Regions from separate parts of the Homo sapiens genome. Here region 2 is linked to region 1. The links are contacts of gene promoters, found by promoter capture Hi-C in blood cells and fetal thymus (Javierre and others, 2016). All regions are on one chromosome and are shown on one strand. Each heading gives the region's core, a stretch centred on a gene start or on the middle of the fragment in contact. The rest is flanking DNA. Distances are from core to core; before and after follow the strand shown. Region 1 holds the start of P3H2 (prolyl 3-hydroxylase 2). Region 2 overlaps P3H2 (prolyl 3-hydroxylase 2).

Region 1 (6,060 bases), core at 2,858-5,357:
TTTTGCTTTTTAAAAAAGAATTTACAAAACTACTATCACCCACTGCCCCATGACATCTAGCATATATGTTTTATATTTTGCTATATCAAATTAAGCATTGTACTCCTGCTACTGCCTACCTGTGGGTCTAAGTATCCTCATTTTTAAGTTAAGGGAATTAGATGAGCCTCGCAGTGCTCAAACTATGCTATATCCCTCAGGCTTGGCACCATTGACACATTAGACTGAATAATTATTTCTTGTAGGTAGCTGTCTTGTGTATTGCAGTATGGTCAACACCATCCCTGGTTCTACCCACTAGACACCAACAGTATGAATGCTCCCACCTACCATGCCCCAGATCCGACAACCAAAAATACCTCCAGATAATGTGAAATGTCCTCTGGGGAGTACAATCACTCTCAATTGAGAACCACTGCTCTAACTGAAGCTGTGAATCTTAACCTTTGGTTAGTATCTGCATCACCTGAGAAACTGGTAAAAATATAAAGGCCCAGACTAGATTCTAGTTCAAAAATCCAGGGTCTCCACGATCTTACTAGCTTTTTCACAACACAACGAAGTTTTAGAACCATTGTTCCTAAGAAATCAGATAATAAAGTATGGGCAGCACATCATCAAGGAACAAGTTAGAAATGCAAATTTGAAAGCTCCACCCCAGGTTTAGTGAATCCGGAACTCTGAGATGGAAGTCAGTTAATTATTTAAGGAAAAAGTACATTCTTGGCACACTCTGTGAGAAGTTCAGGAGTATAAGAGACTCGTGGATGACTGTCTGTTCCAACATTGAGTAAGTACCACTGGGACAGCATGACCTGGAATCAGCTTCTTGGCACTGCATGGCTCTTATTACCATAAGGTCATGAACTTTTTGTCCTGATCCAGCCTTAAAAAGCAGATCAGATTGGCTTTCCTGGGAGGGAATATCTGGGGGATTACACAAAACCCTACCTATTCTCCAAACCCTACCTACTCATGAATTCTACACAGCACCTGGAACCCCAACTCATAGACTTATTCTTTGGGCTGTGGCATTAGCTGTAGACCTGTGGTTCTCAACCTTGGCTTCGTATTATAATCACCTGGGAAACTTCTAAAAATCCCATCGCTCAGGTCATATCCCAGACCAATAAATCAGAATCTTTCAGAGCAGAAGCCAGACACTTCTTAGGTGATTCTAATGTTCAAGCAAATTTGAGTTGTCAATGAATAGTTTCTCTCAAGTCAGGCAGAGATTGTACGTAAGGTAGTAATACAAGGCATATTACTTACTTACTACTTGTAGTAAGATATAAGAAATAAGGTAGTAGGACATACAAGAGGCTTGAAAGAACCTGGCCAATTTGGCAATCAGTAGGATGTGGTTGCATTCTATAGGCTATTGACTGTGTGCTAATGCCAATTATTTCCCTAAGTCTTTTTAGATCCTTCTAGCCAGAAGCTATCTTTGTAACCTCTGTGTTCCCAGAGCTCTTTTTTCTTTCTTCTTCTTTTTTTTTTTTCTTTTTGTTTTTTGAGACTGAGTCTCACTCTGTGGCTCAGGCTGGAGTACAATGGCGCGATCTTGGCTGACTGCAACCTCTGCATCCCGGGTTCAAGTGATTCTCCTGCCTCAGCCTCCTGAGTAGCTGGGATTAAATGTGCCTGCCACCACGCCCAGTTGATTTTTGTATTTTCAGTAGAGACGGAATTTCACCATGTTGGCCAAGCTGGTCTCCAACTCCTGAGCTCAGGTGATCCACCTGCCTCGGCCTCCCAAAGTGCTGGGATCACAAGTGTGAGCCACTGCGCCCGGCCAACACTTTCAATCTAATCTAACACGTACCACATTCTACCTTGTATTATAGCTGTATACATTATATATATCAAATTTGTTTCCTATACAGTACTGTGAGCTTCCCAAAGGTAAGAATCCTGACTTATCTTCTCTTTCACCTAGAATATTTACTTTAAGAGTAGGCATCAAAAATTGTTAATTTAATTGAAATATATTAAATGATGTAGAAATGTCACCAAATGTACAAATAGAATGTAGCAAGGTATCCTGGCACTTTGCCCTCAGTCCCACAGCAGGAGTTCCTATCCTGATGTGCTTCAAAACCTTCCACAAGTGGACTGATAACCCTGGACTAGACTCCAAAATCTTTATCTGAAAACAGACAATCTCTAGAGAAAAAGTCTGGGCAGATGACTGATGTGCTAATTCTGGAACACTGACCATCCAAGGCATTCAATATACATTCAGCTCCAAACTGGAGCTTTTTCATCAGTGATATGAGCCGAATTAGTAACGTTTGGTGGGAAAAAAAAAGAGCATGATTCATCAGTGTCTCTTGGAATTACACAGCCAGGGCTGTTCATGGCCTGAGTGGTCAAACCTAACAAAATGAATGAAGGAATCAGCATGAATCTCTGGCAAGCCCCTCAGCGTAGTGGTGATTCCACATAAAAGCCTTCTTCGGAAAAATCATAGCAACTAGATACATGCGTGAGTCTTTTTCCCATTGCCTGTCCCTCTGCTCACCATTGCAGGGGCTGAAAGACTGATGAGATTCTCACAGGCACTAGAAGACCACAGAAATGCCTCCAGGAGGCAGGCTGGGATCCAGGGTCCAACCAATATTCTTGTGAGAGTGTGAAGCCAAGGAACACGAAAGAGGGGAACACCTTGGCTAAGAATGTATTCGTGACAGAGGAGAAGGGGAGGAACAGGAAGCCTCCAGCTAGTCGTTTGGAATCTGGCAACCATTTCTGTCAGCTTTCTCATTCCTAGATTGATGCAGATTGCTTAATTCCTTGAGGTAAGGGATATACTAAATTGCCTCTTTGTTCAACTCTTAGAATAAGAATTTCCCTCTCCTCTCCCGTCCCCTCCCCTCCCCTCCTCTCCTCTCTTTTCTTTTTCTTTGTTTTTTTTGTTTTTGAGACGGAGTCTCACTCTGTCACCCAGGCTGCATGATCTCAGCTCACTGCAACCTTCACCTCCCAGGTTCAAGCAATTATCCTGCCTCAGCCTCCTGAGTAGCTGGGTCTGCAGGCACGTGCCACCACGCCCAGCTAATTTTTGTATTTTTAGTAGAGACGGGGTTTTGCCATGGTGGCCAGGCTGGTCTCGAACTCCTGACCTCAGGTGATCCACCCGCCTTGGCCTCCCAAAGTGCTGGGATTACAGGGGTGAGCCACTGCACCTGGCCCACAGCAAGAATTTTTTTCTGAATAGCATTTTACGTGTTAGGCGTCTGGCTGTTTAGGAGATGAGGAAACTGAGGCCCTCAGTTGCCAAGGTCACACAGCTGGTAAACGGACGGAGCCAGAATGCGAGTACAGCTCCTCCTGCCTCCAAAGGTTCTCTGGGCCCTGTAAAACCACGGGCTGCACAGGAAAGGCAGGCTATATATTGTTCTTCCCCTGGCCCAGCGCCCTGATCCAATGCCCGGACACACATCCACACCAAGTTGGACGAAAAGGTAAGGGAGAAACCTTCCCCAAGAGAAGAAGCGGTAAGCTTTGGTTCTAAAGGCCCTGGGTTGGGTCCGTCCTTTGCCACTTCTCAGCTCTATGCATTTAGGCAAATCACTTATCTTCTTAAACCTCCGCATCTGGGCCTACAGGGCCTCTATGGGTTTTTTTTCTATTTATTTATTTATTTATTCTTTTTTTTTTTAACTTTACGTTCCGGGATACACGTGCAGAATGCGCAGATTTGTTGCGTAGGTACACATGGCATCTACGGTTTGATTCAGTCTGAAATGGCGCTCCAGGCTTCATTTAGAAGGTGAAGCACTCTGCAAACTGCGAGGCCATACAGAGATTCCAGAATATGATTAAGGCCCTAACCTTGCTAAGCTGGATTTTCTTTATTTCCCAAAAAGAAGACTAATACTATCCACTTGTACAACCAGAAGGGAGCTCACGTGTAAAGCGCCTCGTCCCCGGCCGGCCTCAAGCGGCGCTAGCTCTCTGGCTGGCGCTGGAGTGTGCCGCCCCTGGCAGCCCCGCCGCTGCAGCGGGGAGCCTGGGAGAGCGGCTCTCGGAGTCTCAGGCAGCAGGAGGAGCGTGTGAGCTGTGGGCGTCCCTTTAAGAGCGGCTGGCCAGGCACGGCCTCCGCCTCTCAGTACGCGGAGCGCCGGCGGTCACCTGGGGCTCGCGGAGCGGCCAGATCGCGGCGGAGTCGGCGCGCTTCCCCGAGGGAAGGTGGGAGAGGGGACCCGGACGCGAGGTGCCCCGAAGCCCTCTCGAGCGTAACCGTCCCGCGCCTCTCTGAGGCGGAGGATGCGGGAGCGCATCTGGGCGCCGCCGCTGCTGCTGCTGCTGCCGCTGCTACTGCCGCCGCCACTGTGGGGCGGCCCCCCGGACAGCCCACGCCGGGAGCTGGAGCTGGAGCCCGGGCCTCTGCAGCCCTTCGACCTGCTCTACGCCAGCGGCGCGGCCGCCTACTACAGCGGAGACTACGAGCGAGCGGTGCGCGACTTGGAAGCGGCGCTGCGCAGCCACCGGCGCCTGCGGGAAATCCGCACGCGCTGTGCCCGCCACTGCGCGGCGCGCCACCCGCTCCCGCCCCCGCCCCCCGGCGAGGGCCCCGGCGCTGAGCTGCCCCTTTTCCGCTCCTTGTTGGGGCGGGCGCGCTGTTATCGCAGCTGTGAGACCCAGCGCCTCGGGGGCCCCGCATCCCGCCACCGCGTCAGCGAGGATGTGCGCAGCGACTTCCAGCGCAGAGTGCCCTACAACTACCTGCAGCGGGCCTACATCAAGGTACCCACAGAGCGCTCCTCCACTGCAAAGCCCCTGCGGCTCTCACACGCTCTCTTGAGCCCTCCCTGCTGCCCCCGTCATCTCTGTTCAGTCTTTCGAATTGGGTCTCCTTAAATATGTGTCTCAGTTTGTGAATCCAGATATCTGGTGGCCCTATCTCTGTATGCAACAATTGATTAACTTGGACAAGTCTTTTTCTCTCTTTCTCAGAGCCAGCTTCTCTCTCAAAAAGAGGACTGTCCTGATAAGGTGATGTTTAAAGTACCCATTCAGCACTAATTCATGAGGCATTGACAAAGCTGAATCTAGTACAATTTATCTTCTCCCTTCTCACTTCCCATTTCTCTTCTCCCTTCTCACTTCCCATTTCTCTTCTCCCTTCTCACTTCCCATTTCTTTTGTCTCCTCTCTCTTATCCTTCCTATACTGTAGTCTGCACCTTTTCTCTGAAGTTTAAAAGAATCTTCAAAATAGTGAAGTTGAAAGACCTGTTCCAAAACAAATTTCTCTCTCTTCTCCCCTTCACCTACAAAAAAGTAAAGATCAAAGGTTAAAGAGAAGGTATGCTTGGAGGAGGCGAAGCTGTTTGAGGCAGTCTCAGTCAAAGTATCCACCCTAAGTGTTGACTTTTTCTCCTTTGATAGAGGGCTTACGTTTTCTGGTGGTATGCATTGGACTGGGTTACTAGGCATCAGTCCTCTCTTTCTAGTTTTATTTTTGTATGCCTAACTTGCCTAAAGTTAGCGTCAGGAGGTATAGTATGCATATTGACATATTGTTCACATCCATAACTTTGAAGATCTCTCTGGATGCTTCAGCAGAGGGAATTTGAATGAGTTCTTCAACCTCCACTGCCACTCACCCAATTTTCCTTCAAATTGACACTCTTAACCCTTCTTTCTCGTTTTCTGTGTTAATATATCAATGTATCTTCTACAGCTACCGGAAAAGTGGAAGCTTTGGGGTTGGTTGTTCATGCTAGCCAATGGACCAGGCTGCTCTGCTCTGCTCTGCTCTGCTGTGCTCTGCTTTGCTTTCTTTTCTCCTCTCCTCTCCCCTCCTCTCCTCTCCTCTCCTCTCCCCTCCCCTCCCCTCCCCTCCCCTCCCCTCCCCTCTCCTCTCCTCTCTTCCTTTTCTTTTCTTTTTTTGACGGAGTTTTGCTCTTGTCACCCAGGCTGGAGTGCAGTGGTGCAATCTGGGCTCACTGCAACCTCCGCCTCCCGGGCTCAAACGATTCTCCTGCCTCAGCCTCCTGAGTAGCTGGGATTACAGGTGTGCACCACCATGCCGGGCTAATTTTTGTGTGTG
Region 2 (6,605 bases), core at 2,334-4,833, 150 kb after region 1:
GTATCCATAAAAATCTAGTACGTTGTAAAGATGAGTAAATTAAAGAATTGAGATATTAATCATTTTATCATGATCATATAGCTAGTTAGTGTTAGACTTGGAACCAAAACCTAGGTCTTCTAATTCTTTGTCAAGTAATCTGATGGAAACGTAAGAACGTCAGTTCCTAAGTCACCCAAGTCTAGAATAAGTCAAATGATTCTACAAGGTGTCTTTCAAGTAACCTGGTGTTCTACGTACTTGGACTGAGCATTGGCCTTCAAATATATAGTTACCAAAATTATCATATATGTGTGTATGTATGTGTATGTGTATATATACCTATAGGTATGTGTGTATATATATTATATATATAAAAAATATATATATAATATATATACACACATATAAATATGCCCACTGCAGCTTCCTTTCCCATGCAGACATGGCCTCATATATATATATATATATATATATATATATATTTGCATATATATATGCATAGAGAGATATATGATTGTGACTGTATGTAATAAACTCATACCTGAAAATTGATACACACACACACACACACACACAAATATGTAAACAAAGAGTAAATCAAAAGTTCAATTCAACGACCATCTTCCTAAGTAAACCCGTGCCTTTGGAAAGAAGCCTACTTAAAGACCATATAGTTAGCATCCTTTGGTCTTCAAGCCAAAGAGCATACACAATGGTAGAAAAATATATTTTCGACTGCTGCCGCTCTTTGGCCCACTTCATTCCCTTAGTCCCGAGTGCTCGCCCACTGCAGCTTCCTTTCCTGTGCGGACATGGCCTCAAGCACCACCACCACTGCCATGAAGATTGGAATAATTGGTGGAACAGGCCTGGATGATCCAGAAATTTTAGAAGGAAGAACTGAAAAATATGTGGATACTCCATTTGGCAAGCCATTTGATGTCTTAATTTTGGGGAAGATAAAAAATGTTGATTGTGTCCTCCTTGCAAGGCATGGGAGGCAGCACACCATCCTGGCTTCCAAGGTCAACTACCAGGCGACCATCTGGGCTTTGAAGGAAGAGGGCTGTACACATGTCATAGGGACCACAGCTTGTGGCTCCTTGAGGGAGGAGATTCAACCTGGCGATATTGTCATTATTGATCAGTTCATTGACAGGACCAGTATGAGACCTCAGTCCCTCTATGATGGAAGTCATTGTTGTGCTAGAGGAGTGTGCCATATTCCAATGGGGGCCAAGCCCCCAAACGAGAGACGTTCTTATAGAGACTGCTAAGAAGCTAGGACTCTGGTGACATTCAAAGGGGACAATGGTCACAACTGAGGGACCTCGTTTTATCTCTTGAGCAGAAAGCTTCATGTTCTGCACCTGGGGGGTGGATGTTATCAACATGACCACAGTTCCAGAGGTGGTTCTCACTAAAGAGGCTGGAATTTGTTATGCGAGTATTGCCATGGTGACAGATTATGACTGCTGGAAGGAGCACGAGGAAGCAGTTTTGGTGGACCGGGACTTACAGACCCCGAAAGAAAATGCTAGTAAAGCCAAAAGTTTACTGCTCACTGCCATACCTCAGATAGGATCCATGGAATGGTCAAAAACCCTCCATGGCCTGAAGAATATAGCCCAGTTTTCTGTTTTAAAATTTTTGCAATTTATCCTTTTGACAAAGGGCTAATATCTAGAATCTACAGAGAACTTTAACAAATTTACAAGAAAAACAAACAAACAACCCCATCAAAAAGTGGGAGAAGGATATGAACAGACACTTCTCAAAAGAAGACATTTATGAGGCCAACAAACATATGAAAAAAAGCTCATCATCACTGGTCATTAGAGACATGCAAATCAAAACCACAATGAGATACCATCTCACGCCAGTTAGAATGGCGATCATTAAAAAGTCAGGAAACAACAGATGCTGGAGAGGATGTGGAGAAATAGGAATGCTTTTATACTGTTGGTGGGAGTGTAAATTAGTTCAACCATTGTGGAAGACAGTGTGGCAATTCCTCAAGGATCTAGAACCAGAAATACCATTTGACCCAGCAATCCCATTACTAGGTATATACCCAAAGGATTATAAATCATTCTACTATAAAGACATATGCACATGTATGTTTATTGCGGCACTGTTCACAATAGCAAAGACTTGGTACCAACCCAAATGCTCATCAATGATAGACTGGATAAAGAAAATGTAGCAGATATATACCATGGAAGACTATGCAGCCATAAAAAAGGATGAGTTCATGTCCTTTTCAGGGACATGGATGAAGCTGGAAACCATCATTCTCAACAAACAAACACAGGAACAGAAAACCAAACACCACATGTTCTCACTCATAAGTGGGAGCTGAACAATGAGAACACATGGACACGGAGGGTAACATCACACACCAGGGCCTGTCAGGGGGATAACATTAGGAGAAATACTTAATGTAGATAATGGTTTGATGGGGTGCAGCAAACCACCATGGCACATGTACACCTATGTAACAAACCTGCACATTCTGCACATGTACACTAGAACTTAAAAGTATAATAATAATAAAAAAATTTCCAATTGAGAAAGTAAGCAGATTATAGATGACCAGGTATCTCTCACCACCATACAAAATCTAAGTAGTTGGGACATGTATGTGATAAACTTCAAAGTTTTGGCATTATAGAAGCTATTTCTAAACTTTTCTTGAATTTTATGCTTGTCCCTCATAGCTTACATGCTTTTCTCATTAGTGAAACATATCTGTCATTTATGACACACATATGTTATTCATCACACAGTACTGTGATATAAGCAGGTAATATCAAAAAGTATGTATTACTGGGTTAAAAGGTGATTCCTATGAGGATTCTCGTTAAAATTGTCTAGAAACATTGTAATAACTAAGAAAAAATATTTCATGTGACTTCATACAATAATATATGTTAAAAAGTCATGATGCCTCACTTTTTGGGTAAAAAGCTTAAATGTTAATATGGGAGTACTTTAATACTCCGTAATCTGATAAATTAAATCAAGATTGACGATCTGTATTGGAGTTTAAAGTCCAGAAGGTTTTTTGCACTTCTGGGAAAGCTTGAGTGTAGGAAGCATTTTATTTCTGATCTCTGCTAACACTGAAACTGAGGTACAAAAATACTGGCATTTCGCAGTTTCAAAGAAAGTCAGACAGGTGGTTGAAAAGATTTCTTTGCTTCTCCTCCATCTAGTGGCCGTATTTGGAAATGCTTGATGCTTAAAGCAAGGGATGCCTGTTTCATTAATTTTTGAATGTCAAGTTAACTGGAATTCTACTTTTTAAAGATGTGAAAGCAGATAATATTCTCCTTTCAGAGTGCTACAATTTTAATTAAAATCTATAACTATTTTTAAAAACCCAGAATCTAACCTCCCCTAAAAAAACTAAAACTGATTTAAACAAATTTTTAATCCAAAAGCTCCTGTTTGAGAACATTTATTTCCTCAAATACTTCATATTAATGCATACAGTGGCATTTTAGGGAATAACGTAGATAACTAAAATTCTTACGTAAGGCAGTTCTTATCTTTCCCCACAGGAAGTTTATTCTAGTACCAGCAACAACAACAACAGCAACAGAAATGGGTATTTTTCTGTTTTAGTTTCCCTTTGACTGTGGAGGGACAAATGGAGCAGAGAAATGGCATAACTTGAGGCCACATAAGGAAGTAACGTCTTCTGAGTCCTTTACTTTGGAAAAATCTGGAAGTTGTGTAATTATCTGAAAGGTGGCTGAAATTTTACTTTTATTAAAGACAATTACAGCACAAACGCTTTTCTAAATCAATCATCAGTTAGACGGAAAGCAAAAGGATTATTTTAAATTATGCTTAGTATACTTGGAAGATATGTGGATTCTTTTCAATAGCGGCATTTGTTTGTGAGACTTGGGAATTCAAGGATGTTGGTTTCTCTGTGCAGGTTCAAAGAAGATAAAATTTAATGAGTTCCATTTGTTTCATGAAAAATTAAATTCAGTATAAACGGGGCTGTGTTACAAAAGTATGTTTATAATCATTTATCCAAACTTCATAACATATTTTTGCTGTAGAAACAATGTCACACATGGAAGCAGGTTCACTAAAGCTTGTTTATTCCTCCAAATACCTGACATGTAACAGATGATGTTCGCTGTGTGATGAGATGGGTCTTAGAGATCCTTGTGAATCCACGGCTATAATCAGTTCCAACCGCCTCATACAGTTCACAGCTTCTTTTCCTAAACTTTCCCAAAGTTATTCATGTTTAAAATTACTTTCAATTCCAGAAGAAAGAAAATACTAATTTGTCCCCACATCCTTTCTTTAGTCTTATAAGATGTTACCAAGACTTGGTAATCACATAGAAACATTGGCAAATGCGTGTTTGAGTGAGTCCTGACCAGCACCAGGGAGTGGGCAGCCCAGAAAACCTGAAATTCCAACATCCCAAGGCCATTTACTCAGAAGGCTTTTCTTTCTTTCTTTCTTTCTTTCTTTCTTTCTTTCTTTCTTTCTTTCTTTCTTTCTTTCTTTCTTTCTTTTTCTTTCTTTCTTTCTTTTTTCTTTCTTTCTTTCTTTCTTCCTTTCTTTCCTTCTTTCTCTTTCTTTCTTTCTTTCTTTTCTTTCTTTCTCTCTCTCTTTTTCTTTCTTTCTCTCCCTCTCTTCTTTCTTTTCTTTCTTTCTTTTTTTTTTTTTCTGTCACCCAGACTGGAGTGCAGTAGCACGATCTCAGCTCACTGCAACTTCCGTCTCCCAGGTTCAAGCGATTCTCCTGCCTCAGCCTCCTGAGTAGCTGGGATCACAGGCACCCACCAACACATCTGGCTAATTTTTGTATTTTTAGTAGAGACGGGGTTTCACCATGTTGGCCAGGCTGGTCTCAAACTCCTGACCTCAGGTGATCCACCTGCCTTGGCCTCCTAAAGTGCTGGGATTATAGGCGTGAGCCACCACGCCCGGCCTCAGAAGTCTTTTCTATCCTACTTCACAGGTTTTACCTTTCACTTATTTTGCTGCTTCTATGTGGAAATGTACAAATTCCTTCTCCAGAAAAACAGAATCACATTGATACTGAGGACACGACTAACTCGTGAACTCTCTAGATTTACATCAGAACAGTTGCCTTGGTAAAGCTGTTTAGGAAAAGCAATTCCAGCAAAGACAAATCACTCTTCAGTTATTGTGAGTAGAAGAGTAAAAAGAAACTGACTGCTTTTTTTCTGCTCTTCCCTTTAACACTCACACACAAGTCACATATACACACACATGCAGACTCACACAGACATAAACACACACACATGCCCACATAAACACATATGCACCCACCTGTCTCTCTGGCTTTCCGACTCCTCCACCTACCTCTTACCTTCCATATGTAGTCACGTAGTCCGGGAGTACCTATGTTATGTAGCAACCAAGGACTTTAGGAAATTTTTCAAATATTCTTCCTGAAGCTAGCAGTGAAAAACCAGCCAGCTCATTTTATGCAGAAGGAAACCAAAGATTTACGGGCATATGTCAACTCAAGTCAATTCAGAAAATGGCTAGTGAGAACCAGTCCATGTTCTCACCTAGTAAAATGGCTAGTGCCACTTTTTTTTGGTTTTACTTTACTTTTCTGAACTATACAGAGGAATGAATAAAGTTTCTGTATTTCCCAAGAAAGACAAAATGGATTCTACTCACATGAGACACTTCTTTAAACACAGAAGCAAGGCCTCTAATATTCAGTTGCTTAAGCTCATTCAATTTGAAGAGGCAGCTTGTTTGATCTTCTACCCTGGCTCAGTGAGCCCAGCAGTATTTCTTTTTCTCTCACTACACTCTTCTACCTAAACGCTGTGGACAGCTCCACCTGAGCAGTGCATAAGCTGCGAAGGACTGTGTCAGTCTTAAAACACTTAAGGGTGATGGCGAATAGGCCACTCCAAGGGGTGTCGTGTTCTCACCACTAGAGATGTTCAAACAATGCCTAAACGACCACTGGGAAACAATAGTGTAAAGGAAATGAAATATCATACAGAATTATGACTTTTAAAAATGTTTGTATTGTGAAAAGCACATAAACCATGAATGTACAATTTAAAAATTAGAAAGCGTATACGCTCATGTAACCACTACCTAGATCAATAACAACTTTTCCAGCACTGCAGATGTCCTGTTTGTTTGTTTGTTAATTACACAAGTATGGAATGGACACCTACCTTGTATCCGGATGCTTTGCTAGTGCAAAAGCTACAGAAATGAATTATGAGAGGAAAACTTTGCCTTCTTTGAATTTGCAGGCTATCATATATATAGCATGTATTGAATGATTACTATGTATGTGGACTTTGCTACACGTTTTACTTGAACATCTTTTTATTTTCTGAGGTATATATTATTTTGACCTTACCTTTGTTTTACGGGTGAGAAAATTGAGATAATTTACATCATCTTCAATCCCAGGATTCCTTTATTCTTCGCCTCAGGCCTTAACTCAAATAATCTCATAGCCAGAGAAGCAGGAGTTGTGGAAATGTTTATGATACAACAATTGAAAGTCTAATTTTTGCTTTCTTTCTCAGGCCTCTATAAAACCAAAATGTGGGCGCATGATCAGCTTCTCATCTGGA

Evidence for each region. The method cuts DNA at HindIII sites, captures the fragments that hold promoters and counts their contacts. A CHiCAGO score of 5 or more calls a contact.
Region 2: a fragment that was not itself captured here is called in contact with the fragment with the promoter of P3H2 in region 1 in 3 of 17 cell types (endothelial precursors, megakaryocytes and erythroblasts); the score reaches 13.9 in endothelial precursors.

What each region holds. Positions count from the first base shown.
Region 1 is chr3:190,118,944-190,125,003 of GRCh38, reverse strand. It overlaps P3H2 (prolyl 3-hydroxylase 2), which reads left to right and starts at 4,107. Exons shown (of 15, transcript NM_018192.4): 1 at 4,107-4,752. The coding sequence starts at 4,273. It overlaps P3H2-AS1 (P3H2 antisense RNA 1), which reads right to left and starts at 4,040. Exons shown (of 4, transcript NR_126419.1): 1 at 3,915-4,040. RefSeq lists an enhancer at 3,721-3,900 and silencers at 3,870-4,164, 4,111-4,340, 4,551-4,630. The HindIII fragment of the contact is 2,204 bases long and covers 3,508-5,711 here.
Region 2 is chr3:189,964,051-189,970,655 of GRCh38, reverse strand. It overlaps P3H2 (prolyl 3-hydroxylase 2), which reads left to right. Exons shown (of 15, transcript NM_018192.4): 14 at 6,558-6,605. It also overlaps the pseudogene MTAPP2. Among named protein-coding and RNA genes, the nearest start is that of MIR944, 140 kb to the right of the region's middle. The HindIII fragment of the contact is 1,030 bases long and covers 3,069-4,098 here.